Regions from separate parts of the Homo sapiens genome. Here region 2 is linked to region 1. Evidence: promoter capture Hi-C in human tissues and cell types (Jung and others, 2019). All regions are on one chromosome and are shown on one strand. The core of a region is centred on a gene start or on the middle of the fragment in contact, and the rest is flanking DNA. Distances in the headings are between cores, read along the strand shown. Region 1 holds the start of NUDT13 (nudix hydrolase 13). Region 2 overlaps P4HA1 (prolyl 4-hydroxylase subunit alpha 1).

Region 1 (5,903 bases), core at 1,779-4,278:
AACTCCTGACCTTGTGATCCACCCGCCTTGGCCTCCCAAAGTGCTGGGATTACAGGTGTGAGCCACCGCGCCTCCCCTACTTAATTTTTCTAAGCCTATGTTTTCTCATCTGTAACGTGCAATTTTTTTTTTTTTAGACAGGGTGTCTCTGTCACCAAGCTGGATGGAGTGCAGCATCATGATCTCGGCTCACTCCTGGGCTCAAGCAGTCCTCCTATCTCAGCCTCCTGAGTAGCTGGGACCGCAGGTGCATGCCACCATGCCCAGCTAATTTTCGTATTTTTTGTAGAGATGGTGTTTTGTCATGTTGCTCAGGCTGGTTTCTTGAACTCCTGAACTCAAGCAATCTTCCCACCTCAGTCCCCAAAGTGCTGGGATTACAGGCGTGTGCCACCACACGTAGCCTAAAGTACAAATTTTAATACAGATTTCATAGGATGTGAGGATTAATGACAAATATGTGGGACACTTAGCATAGTGCCTGGAACACAGCAAATGCTCAGTCTGAGCTATTTTTATTATTATAGCACTTAACAATTACTACAAAAAGTTATTTTGACTTTTTAAATTATTAGAGCCCCAATTTCCCCCTAAGCATCCTTAGAATCCATTGACTTTATATCTTGTTTCCCTACAATTTTCTGTGTCTTCCTTAAGGATAATGAACCAATCTGATTTTTTTTTTTTTTTTTTCAGACAATGTCTCGCTCTGTCACCCAGGCTGGAGTGCAGTGGCGCAATCTCAGCTCACTGCAACCTCTGCCTCTCGGGTTCAAGCGATTCTTGTGCCTTAGCCTCCCAAGTAGCTGGGACTACAGGTATGTGACACCAGACCTGGCTTAATTTTGTATTTTTAGTAGGGTTTCACCATGTTGGCCAGGCTGGTCTAAAACTCCTGACCTCAAATGATGTGCCCACCTCGGGCTCCCAAAGTGCTGGGATTACAGGCATGAGCCACCATGCCCGGCCTACTCTGATCTCATCTCTGATCACCATGCTCTTTCCTAGCCTTTCCTCAAACGGCACACTCCCACCCCAGGGCCTTTGCATATGCTTATTTTGCTCTGTCTACAAATCTCTTTCCATAGATATAAATTTGGTTTCTTCATCACCTTCTTCAGGGTCTTTGTTTAAATATTATCTTAACAATGAGGCTGACCATCCTATATAAAATAGCAAAATAATCCCTCTACTTATCTTGCTTTATTTTTCTTCTTAAGCTTTATAACCACGACACATTGTATATTTACTCGTTTGTTTCCCCTTCTAGAATGTAAGTTACATGAGGACAGAGATTTTCATGTTTTGTTCCCTGCTGTATCCTATCCCTATAACAGTCCTAGGCACATTGGGTACTCATTAAATACATGTTGAATGAGTGGACTTCTTCTCTTGGCTGGGTGCGGTGGCTCACGCCTGTAATCCCAGCACTTTGGAAGGCTGAGGCGAGTGGATCACTTGAGGTCAGAAGTTTAAGACAGCCTGGTCAACATGGCGAAACCCTGGCTTTACTAAAAATACAAAAATTAGCCAGGCATGGTGGTGTGCACCTGTTATCCCAGCTGCTCGGGAGGCTGAAGCAGGAGAATCACTTGACTCCGGAGGAGGAGGTTTCAGTAAGCCAAGATTGTACGTACCACTGCTCTCCAACCTGAGCGACAGAGCAACTCCATCTCAAAAAAAAAAAAAGTGTCTTCTCTCATAGGCAAGTAACTTCAGTAGTAAAACGAGAAGAGAGCAGCACCAAAGTAGCTCTGCTGAGAGGTGAAGCCAGCTGGACTTCCTGGGTGGAGTGGGGACTTGGTGAACTTTTCTGTCTAGTTAGAGAATTGTAAATGCACCAATCAGCACACTGTAAAAATGCACCAATCAGCACTCTGTGTCCAGCTAAAGGATTGTAAACACACCAATCAGCACTCTGTAAAAATGCACCAATCAGCGCTCTGTGTCTAGGTAAAGGATTGTAAACGCACCAATCAGCACTCTGTTTCCAGCTAAAGGATTGTAAACACACCAATCAGCACTCTGTAAAAATGCACCAATCAGTGCTCTGTGTCTAGCTAAAGGATTGTAAACACACCAATCAGCACTCTGTGTCTAGCTAAAGGATTGTAAATGCACCAATCAGCACTGTGTCTAGCTAAAGGATTGTAAACGCACCAATCAGCACTCTGTAAAAACGCACCAATCAGCACTCTGTGTCTAGCTAAAGGATTGTAAATGCACAAATCAGCACTCTGTCAAATGGACCAATCAGCACTCCATAAAATGGACCAATCAGTGCTCTGTAAAATGGACCATTCAGCAGGATGTGGGCAGGGACAAATAAGGGAATAAAAGCTGGCACCCCCAACAGCAGCGGCAACCTACTCGGGTCCCCTTCCACGCTGTGGAAGCTTTGTTCTCTCGCTCTTCACAATAAATCTTGCTGCTGCTCACTCTTTGGGTTCGTGCCACCTTTAAGAGCTATAACACTCACCGAAAGCTCCACGGCTTCATTCTTGAAGTCAGCAAGACCAAGAACCCACTGGAAGGAACCAACTCCGGACACACTTCTAGGAGACTACTTCCAGTCAAATGGAATGCGCTTCCTCTGATCAAGAAATGAATCCTACCATAAGTTCAAACATATCTATACATACCTATACAGAGTCCCATCCTTTTAAATTGGAAGAACTTCATGAAATTTTAGAGCTAGTTCTAAAGTGTGCAGAGAGAGAACTAGAGATATACTAAGGTTAAAAGGTATTTGATTCCCACCCCTGCTTCATCCTCTCCCCAGCCTCATAATATATGCCTTCTGTGTATGAGGGTGGACTTAATGACTTTATCTTTTTTTAATTAAAAAATGGATCTAATACTAACCTACTTTCTCCAAGGATACAGTAGTTCTCTTGGTAATAAGATCTTAGATGTTCATGCTTTTGACAATCATGGTTAACTTGCAGCTGGAGAACACAGCAGCATGCCTGGGAACTGAACTACAATTCCCAGAGTGCATCTCTAGGAGGATTCTGGGAAGTGTGGCAGAAGCAGCAATGGTCCCTCCAGGGAACGGAAGCCGTTGAACGTGAACATTTGGAGTTTCCTCTTTTGTGCTGATTCCTGAGGACTAGGAAGGTGCCCCGAAAAGAATTCAGAGTGAGTACAGTGAAACAGAAACCTGCTCAGCTTCTAAGTGCAGGAAGGACTTCACAGGGAGGCATGATCAGAACTTGAAAAAAGGTCGTGGTCACAGCATTTTAACATTTTAGCTTAATCTCTTCCTTTTTGCAGAAACCAGGGATATAACCATAGTTTTGCCTCATAACTGTGGAGCTACATCAGTAACCACAGCTCATCATTTTCTGATACTTTTTTGGAGAGTCATTTAAAAATGGAACTTGCCAACCTCTCACATTGTGCCTTAATTTTTATTTTTTTTTAAAGGAGGGAAAATTATTTTTTAGAAAGCAAACTATAAAGCAGGTCAGTGAGACCTTCAAAGCTGTATTCCCGTGGTTCCTCAGTTTTCCATATTTCCCTGTCCCATGGAGGTCCACAGTCGTGGAGAAACGGACTCTAAACACAGGCGAAGTATCACTTGGTCGCCCAGGCTGGAGTGCAGTGACACGATCTCCACTCACTGCAAGCTCCGCCTCCTGGGTTCATGCCATTCTCCTGCCTCATACTCCCTAGTAGCTGGGACTACAGGCGCCCGCCACCACGCCCAGCCACTTTTTTTTGTATTTTTAACAGAGACGGGGTTTCACCGTGTTAGCCAGGATGGTCTCGATCTCCTGACCTCGTGATCCGCCCACCTCGGCCTCCCAAAGTGCTGGGATTACAGACGTGAGCCACCGCGCCCGGCCTAAAAAAAGGTCTCTTAAATACTAGGGAACCTGGCCTCTTCACGGTGGAAGTAACCACTAGATTCAAGATGGGCTTTTTTTGTTTTGTCTTGTTTTGTTTTGTTTTTTTGTTTTGAGACGGAGTCTCGCTCTGTCGCCCAGGCTGGAGTGCAGTGGCGCGATCTCGGCTCACTACAAGATGGGCTTTTTTGTCACGCTGTAGTACTTTATAATCTTTCTTCTGGAAAGATGAACAGGATAAGAAACGTGTGAATCATTTGTGTTGGGGAGTTCAAAGAAACTCTTAATGTTAAAGCACCTTGCCTCATCATTTAGTAGTTGGGTAAGACTGCTATTACCTTTCATCTCTATCAAACATTGTACTTTTAAAAACATAAATAGCTCTGTGACCATCAGCTCATGAGTCAGCAGCCATGATAATCTACAACTGGCTAAGGTTAATTTAGTAGCAGAAACTAGGCAAAACATCAGGCAGCAGTTCCCAAGGTCCAAGAAACTCACCAAATGAATTCCCTTTGGCTCATGGAATATGGTGAGGTGTTTTGGGGAACAGTGGCATGGAGGTAGCCTCATTAACCAGTTAGTCTCAGGAACTACTATTTTATTAGGCTTTTCTTTTGTCTTAAAAGGAATAAGTACACATGGCTAATTTTTTTTTCAGTACAGAAAAATGAACAAAATAAAAATTACAGGCACCTTTTTCAATATTTGTCTTCATCCCACTCCCCCAAATTAGTCACTCTTTAATAGTTTGGTATGTATACTTCTAGTCATTTGAAAAATATAAATAAGGCCGGGGGCAGTGGCTCTTGCCTGTAATCCCAGCACTTTGGGAGACCCAGGCAGGCAGATCACCTGAGAACAGGAGTTCGAGACCAGCCTGACCAACATGGAGAAACCCCATCTCTACTAAAAAAAATACAAAATTAGCTAGGCGTGGTGGCGTATGCCTGTAATCCCAACTACTCGAGAGGCTGAGGCAGGAGAATCGCTTGAACCCGGGAGGTGGAGGTTGCGGTGAGCCGAGATTGCGCCATTGCACTCCAGCCCGGGCAACAAGAGCGAAACTCCGTCTCAAAAAAAAATAGAAAGAAAAATATAATTAAATACATATAATTTATGTATATTGGTATGTCTGTGTCCTTTTTTTTATAAATAATTAGGTCATGTTAACCAACTGTTACCTGTTTTTTTCTCCAGCTTTATTAAGGTATAATATTAAGGTATTAAAGTATAATATATACTTTTTGACAAAAAAAGTATATATTTATAGTTTACAATGTGATGTTTTGATACAGGTATACATTGTGAAATGATTAAATCTAGCAAATTAATATATTCATCACCTCACATTTTTTGTGTGTGTTGAGAATATTTAATATCTACTTTCTTAGTAATTTCCAAGTATATAATATATTATGAACTATAGTTACCATACAACACAATAGATATCCAGAATTTATTCATCCTAACTGAAACTTTGTACACTTTGACTAGTATCACCTCCAATTCCTCCTTGCTTTTTTTGTTTACTTAATAATGTGTTCTAAGTCTCTCTCCCTGTTACTATATATATATATTTTTTTCACTGTTATATTATTTTCTATTTGTTCTTTTTCTTTTTTTTAAGACGACGTTTTGCTCTTGTTGCCCAGGCTGGAGTGCAATGGCACGATCTCTGCTCACTGCAACCTCTGCCTCCTAGGTTCAAGCGATTCTCCTGCCTCAGCCTCCCAAGTAGGCAGGATTACAAGCGTGTGCCACCACGCCCAGCTAATTTTGTATTTTTAGTAGAGATGGGGTTTCTCCATGTTGGTGAGGCTGGTCTCGAACTCCTGACCTCGGGTGATCCGCCCGCCTCGGCCTCCCAAAGTGCTGGGATTACAGGCGTGAGCCACCGCACCCAGCCCTTCTATTTGTTCTTAAGTCGCGTATTAATCCATTTTATCATAATTTTCAGTTAACGTTCTTGTACATATCCTTTCCTTCCTAGGGTAAATTCCTAAACATGGAATTGCTGAGGAAAAAGAGAGGCTTATTATTTGACACTTT
Region 2 (5,903 bases), core at 937-3,436, 44 kb before region 1:
ATTAAAGGCAGACTGCCTGGGAATCTGATTTTAAAATAAATCAAAAGTAATGCAGCATTTGAAAAGGAAGGCTGTTTCCAAAGTAGAGAACATGAGAAGAAAAAGTAGGCAAGAAAACAAAGAAGAAAATGAAATAAGGAAAGTGGTATGGGCAGAAAAAGACTGTAAAAAGCTTCATATAAAAAGCAAACCGAGTTTGATGAGAAACAAGAATAAGTTGTAAATTCCTTTGGTTCAAAGGAAGAGGCATGGATGACTGACATGAACATACCAAATTGAATATAATAAACCAAATTGAAAGTAAACTAACACTAAAGAGTCTTTTAATTTATTGTCACAATAGAAACTATAATATCAGGCCAGGTACAGTGGCTCTTGCCTGTAACCCCACCACTTTGGGAGGCTGCGGGGTGCGGGGGGGTGGATTGCTTGAGCTCAGGAGTTCGAAACCAGCCTGGATAACATGGCAAAACCCTGTCTCTACAAAAAATACAAAAATTAGCTGCTTGTGGTGGCACATGCCTGTAGTCCTGGCTACTTGGGAGACTGAGGTAGGAGGATCACCTTAGCTTGGGAGGTTGAGGCTGTAGTGAGCTGTGATTGTGCCACTGCACTCCAGCCTGGGTTGATAGCAGAGTGAGATCCTGTCTCAAAAAAATAAAGAAAATAAAGAAAATAAACTATAATATCATAGGCACTATAGGAAAAACATTATTTAGAAATACATTTTTAGCTAGACATAGTGGCTCATGCCTTTAATTCCAGCAGTTCGGGAGGCTGAGGTGGACGGAACACTTGAGGTCAAGAGCTGAAAACCAGCCTGGCTGACACGGTGAAACCTCATCTCTACTAAAAATAACAAAATTAGCTGGACATGGTGGTGGGCACCTGTAATCCCAGCTACTTGGGAGGCTGAGGCAAGAGAATCGCTTGAACCCAGGAGGCAGAGGTTGCAGTGAGCCGAGCTGCGCCACTGCACTCCAGCCTGGGTAACAGAGTGAGACTCCATGTCAAAAAAGAAAAAGAAATCGATTTTTATGGTTCATCCGTTAAACTGAGAGAGACATCATCCGTTAAACTGAGAGAGACACGTAATCCAAAAATTCTTGCACTTCACAAGAACACTTAATGGATCAAAACTTAATTTGTAAGGGATAATTATGTTTAAAATGCACACACTTAGAAGTTAATGTCCCACCTCTGAGGCAGTGTGGTACACTGATAGCTGAGTGAGCTCCAGAGATGTCTGGAGAATCTACTGTTTGCTATAGTTACCTTATTAACTTACCAAGACAGTGATGCAAGTGACCAGAAGGGTGAACATTCAACTTCCACATGAAGCAAATTGAATTTTGTACATATGACATTTTCTATTACTGACCCCCACCCCCTAAAAAAAATCACAGCTTAAAAAAAAGCATGATATCTTTGGCAGATATGGATCTATTCAACAAATCAGGGTTGGGAACAAACAATCTGAAAACTGAAGGAAGTCCTTAAGAACTATAAGGACAACACTGATGTCAAAATGCATGTAACCTATCAGATTTTTCATTAAAATACCAACAAAGCATTTCAAAAGATAGGCCCAAAGAGGCAAAAGAAACAGATGAAACTAATCAAGGAGTGATGTGGCATCAATATAAATTCACTAAGCATTTCTCTGACTTTTTTGTTTGAAGAAAATTTAAAATACATGCATCCTTCCTCCCTCACCCCCACCATTTCACACCCAGATTGCTAAAATTTTTAAAGTCTGACAAAACCAAGAGCTGGCAAGGATATGAAGAAATGGGAACTCTCATACAATGCTGGTGACAGTATAAATACATGCTCTGGAAAGCAATCTGGCCACATCTGGTAAGTATGATGAAAAACCAAATACCCTATGATTTCTTATACCCTAAGAGAAAGCCTTGCACGTGAGTACATGGCCACAAAAAGAAATCAACAAAGATGTATCAAACTTCATTTGATAAAGCAAAAAATTGGACAAAATCTAAATGTACATCCATCCACAGAAGAATGAATAAATAATGTTATACAATACCACATTAGCAGTTAGATGAATCTGATCAACACAGATAAATTTACTGAAAATATTAGGTTAAAAAAAGGTTGTAGAAAGATACATAGAGTATGATGTACTATTGACATAAAATTTAAAAACACAATACAATGGAAAATATATATGATAAAGTATAAAAAGATGACAGGATACGCACCAAGTTCAGAATAGTCATTACCTCTAAACAAGGGAAGGTGCACAAGAAGCCTTCGAACACATTTGTGATATTTGACTATTAACAACAGAAAATAATCTGGGTTGGGGGAGCCTAAAAACTCTTATGCTAGTATTCATGCTATTATTTTTACCACTTATAGGGTATAATGTGATTAGGAAATTTCAGTTATTCTACTTATAAGGAATTTGCCTGAAAGAAAAGTCAATAAGAACTAGCCCAAAACTGTGATAAAAGAGGAAAAAAGTCAACAAGGAGATAAAAAGCACCTGAGAAAGAATGAATATTGCCCCTAAGACTAAACACAGTGAAATCAGGGTTAAATAATATTCAGGACCATTTTGATGGGAATATAATCATTTTTTAAACAAAACACATATAGTAATCTAAATAACATTTATTACCCACCACCACACATTTGGGAGGCTGAGGTGGGATGTTTTCTTTTTTGCTTTTTGTTTTTTGAGATAGGGGTCTCACTCTGTTGCCCAGGTTGGAGTGTAGTGGCGTGATCACAGCTCACTGCAGCCTTGAACTCCTGGGCTCAAGTGATCCTCCCGTGATATGGTTTGGCTCTGTGTTCACACCCAAATATCACCTTGAATTTTAATAATCCCCACCTATCAAGGGCGGGACAAGGTGGAGATAACTGCATCATGGGGGCAGTTCCCCCATGCTGTTCTTGTGACAGTGAGTTCTCATGAGATAGGATGGTTTTATAAGCACCTGGCATTTCCCCTGCTGGCCCTCATTCTCTTTCCTGCCACCCTGTGAAGAAGTGCCTTCTGCCATGATTGTGAGTTTCCTAAGACATCCGTAGCCATGCGGAACTGTGAGTCAATTAAACCTCTTTTTTAAAATAACTTACCCAGTCTTGGGTATTTCTTCATAGCAGTGTGAATACATCCCACCTCAGCCTCCCAAATAGCTAGGACTACAAGCAAGCACCACAACACCCAGCTAAGTTTTCATTTTTTTGTAGAGTCAGGGAATTGCTATGCTGCCCAGGCTGGTCTTGAACTCCTACCCTCAAGGGATCCTTTCCACCTTAGCCTCCCAAAGTGCTGGGATTACAGGCATGAGCCACCATGCCAGCCCTATTTTGTTAAATGGAATCTATCCAGTTGATGAAGCCAGAAATTCCTATCAAGTACATCATCAAATTCTACTATTCTACTCTAATAAGTAGCTTGATAATCTATCCACTACCACCTCTTACTTAAATATTTGCAACAGCCTCCTCCCTGGTTCTTCGTCCCTTGGCCCCAACCCAATCTCCATTCGGCAGCCAGAATGGTTTTCTAAAAGGAAAAATCATAAATTTCCCTTACAAACTTTTTAATAGCTCCGCACTGCACTCAGGACAGTTCAATCTCTTCCACATGGCTTACAAAGCTCTCCAAGAGATGGCTTCTGCTTACCTCTCTAGTCTCAGCTCTCACTACTCTCACAAAGCCAAACCCCCATATCCACCTGGTGCGTTCACCTCTTGAACTCTACATTAAGCCATACAAACTACATGTTAGTTATCTGAATATGATATGCTCTCTCCTTTTGACCTTTCTACATGTTCCCTCTGTCTGAAACACTTTTCCCACACCCACTCCTGTCTCCCTCTCCCCCATTTTTCTGGCTAATTCCTGGTCCATTAGATCTCAATTTTTTTAATGTGTATCTTCCAGGAATTCTTCCTTTACATCCCTTATGAGGTCCAGCAATAGGTTTCTTTTGATGTGCTCATATGGTATCCTGAATTTCTCCCATCCAAGCACTCATCTTACTATACTGTAAGAATGTTAAATACCCTAATGGCGAGGGTAGTGTATGTCTTGTTCATTATGTGTCCCCAGTACCTAACATAATAGCTGGCACATATTAAGTATTTAATATCTATGAAAACCTGAAACCAATTTTAAAAATAAGGTTATAATCTTATCAAAAGCGTTATAATGTATAATATTAGTAGAAACTGAAAATTTGCAAATTTGTACATTTTTGGAAGTTCAAATTAATGGAATTATATTCCAGCTTAACAGAAATTTTATTTACTATTATACCATGTTTAGTTTTTACCAACGGATACCTTCACCTCAAATAAAGGGAGATGAGCAAGAAAACATTTTGATTAACAACTCATCCCAGTGATTTTTTCTTACGGAGAAAATCAATTTCAATGTGAAGACACAGACAACATATTTTATTTCTGCAGCTGACAATAACAGGAGATAGTAGTGGTAATGAGTCACAAACTTTGAAAAAGTGAGGGACGGCAAAAGTAAATTATCATGAAAGCAACTGTAACTTAAAAAGAGGACTTTGCCAAAAATAGGTCAGAAAGTAGGATGTTCCATACTATGGAACACTTTAAACATATGTGGATACCCAAAACATCTTGGCTTTTAATTATTTAACATATAAACTTTGACTATCAATCCCTTATAGCTTTACATACAAAGCTTTCAAATAGTATTAGGTGTTCTGAATAAAAACATTTGGTGAAATGATAGTTTCTTTTCCTTACACACTAAAATTCCCTACTTAAGTTAGTCTCTATCAATACAAGCTTTCAGAGTAACAAGCTAGAAGCTAGAAGCATACCCGTAACTATTAAGCCCTAAGAGAAAGGGAAGGTGATTCTTTAGTCTTCGAAGGCTATGAAACAAACTACAATTTAAAATCTTAAAATGCAAGTCTTTTTTATACTAACATTGTGTTAATGGACTCAACAGAGAAGCTAGGTGATAGGTATTTTATAGAATGGAAGAATGATCTTACCTGGAAGATTACCCTTTGAGATGGTATCTGTATCCAAATTGTAGGTATCCTGGAGACGTAACAGAGCTTTGGCTGCCCCAACCTGATCTTCATCATTAGGAAAGTACTGTCTCTGAATGGTTAGGTTAGAGATAAAGCCTTGAAATAGATAAATCAAAGAAAAAAAAACTGTAGAACCTCATAAACTTCCCATAAAGAGACTTAATAAGGATTGTTCAAAATCTATTTTATTATTTTCTACCACACCATGAAAAGTTCTACATACTCAACAAGAAAAAATTAAATACACTGAATAAGACTTGGCATACTTCTAACTTGTTCAATCTTCCAAAAGCCTAGTGTTGCTTAAGGACTGTGACGCTGTTATATAAATTGTATCTGTATTAGCAGGTAAAGATCACCTAACATAATAGTTATGAGTTTTTAGTTATATAACACAGCAAGAAAACAAAGTGCATCCACTAAGTTTGAGAAATGAACACATTTATGGGTCTGAAATGACATTCATTGACAATCAATTATACTTCCAGATAACAGATGGTAAGTAAAATATGTGCTCTTAAAGTTGTTTTTTTCTTCCATGTATTACACATTATATAAATATGTAAATATATAAAGTTTGGTGGAATTCTTCAAGGAGAAGGAAGAGATATTAACTATATATTTAAGATCAACAGCAAAGCTAGTTTACTAAAATATATTTAAATCAGTTTAATTATCAAACATGACGTTGATCAACCAAAATTTACAATATATAAACCTAATCTTAGAGGATTTATATAAAGTATGCAAAAATCAAACAAACCAATTACTGATAACTATATAACCCCAAGAAGAATGAATGCTAAACACTCCTTAAGAAATAAAAAATTGGTTTAAAATTTT

Evidence for each region. Contacts are between HindIII fragments. The study calls those that stand out against the background at their distance.
Region 2: a contact is called between a fragment that was not itself captured here and the fragment with the promoter of NUDT13 in region 1, in 1 of the 25 tissues and cell types used here (adrenal gland).

What each region holds. Positions count from the first base shown.
Region 1 is chr10:73,107,427-73,113,329 of GRCh38, forward strand. NUDT13 (nudix hydrolase 13) reads left to right here and starts at 3,029. Exons shown (of 9, transcript NM_015901.6): 1 at 3,029-3,141. RefSeq lists a silencer at 1. The HindIII fragment of the contact is 13,958 bases long and covers 1,809-5,903 here.
Region 2 is chr10:73,063,828-73,069,730 of GRCh38, forward strand. P4HA1 (prolyl 4-hydroxylase subunit alpha 1) reads right to left here. Exons shown (of 15, transcript NM_001017962.3): 5 at 5,019-5,156. Among named protein-coding and RNA genes, the nearest start is that of P4HA1, 30 kb to the right of the region's middle. The HindIII fragment of the contact is 5,132 bases long and covers 1-4,752 here.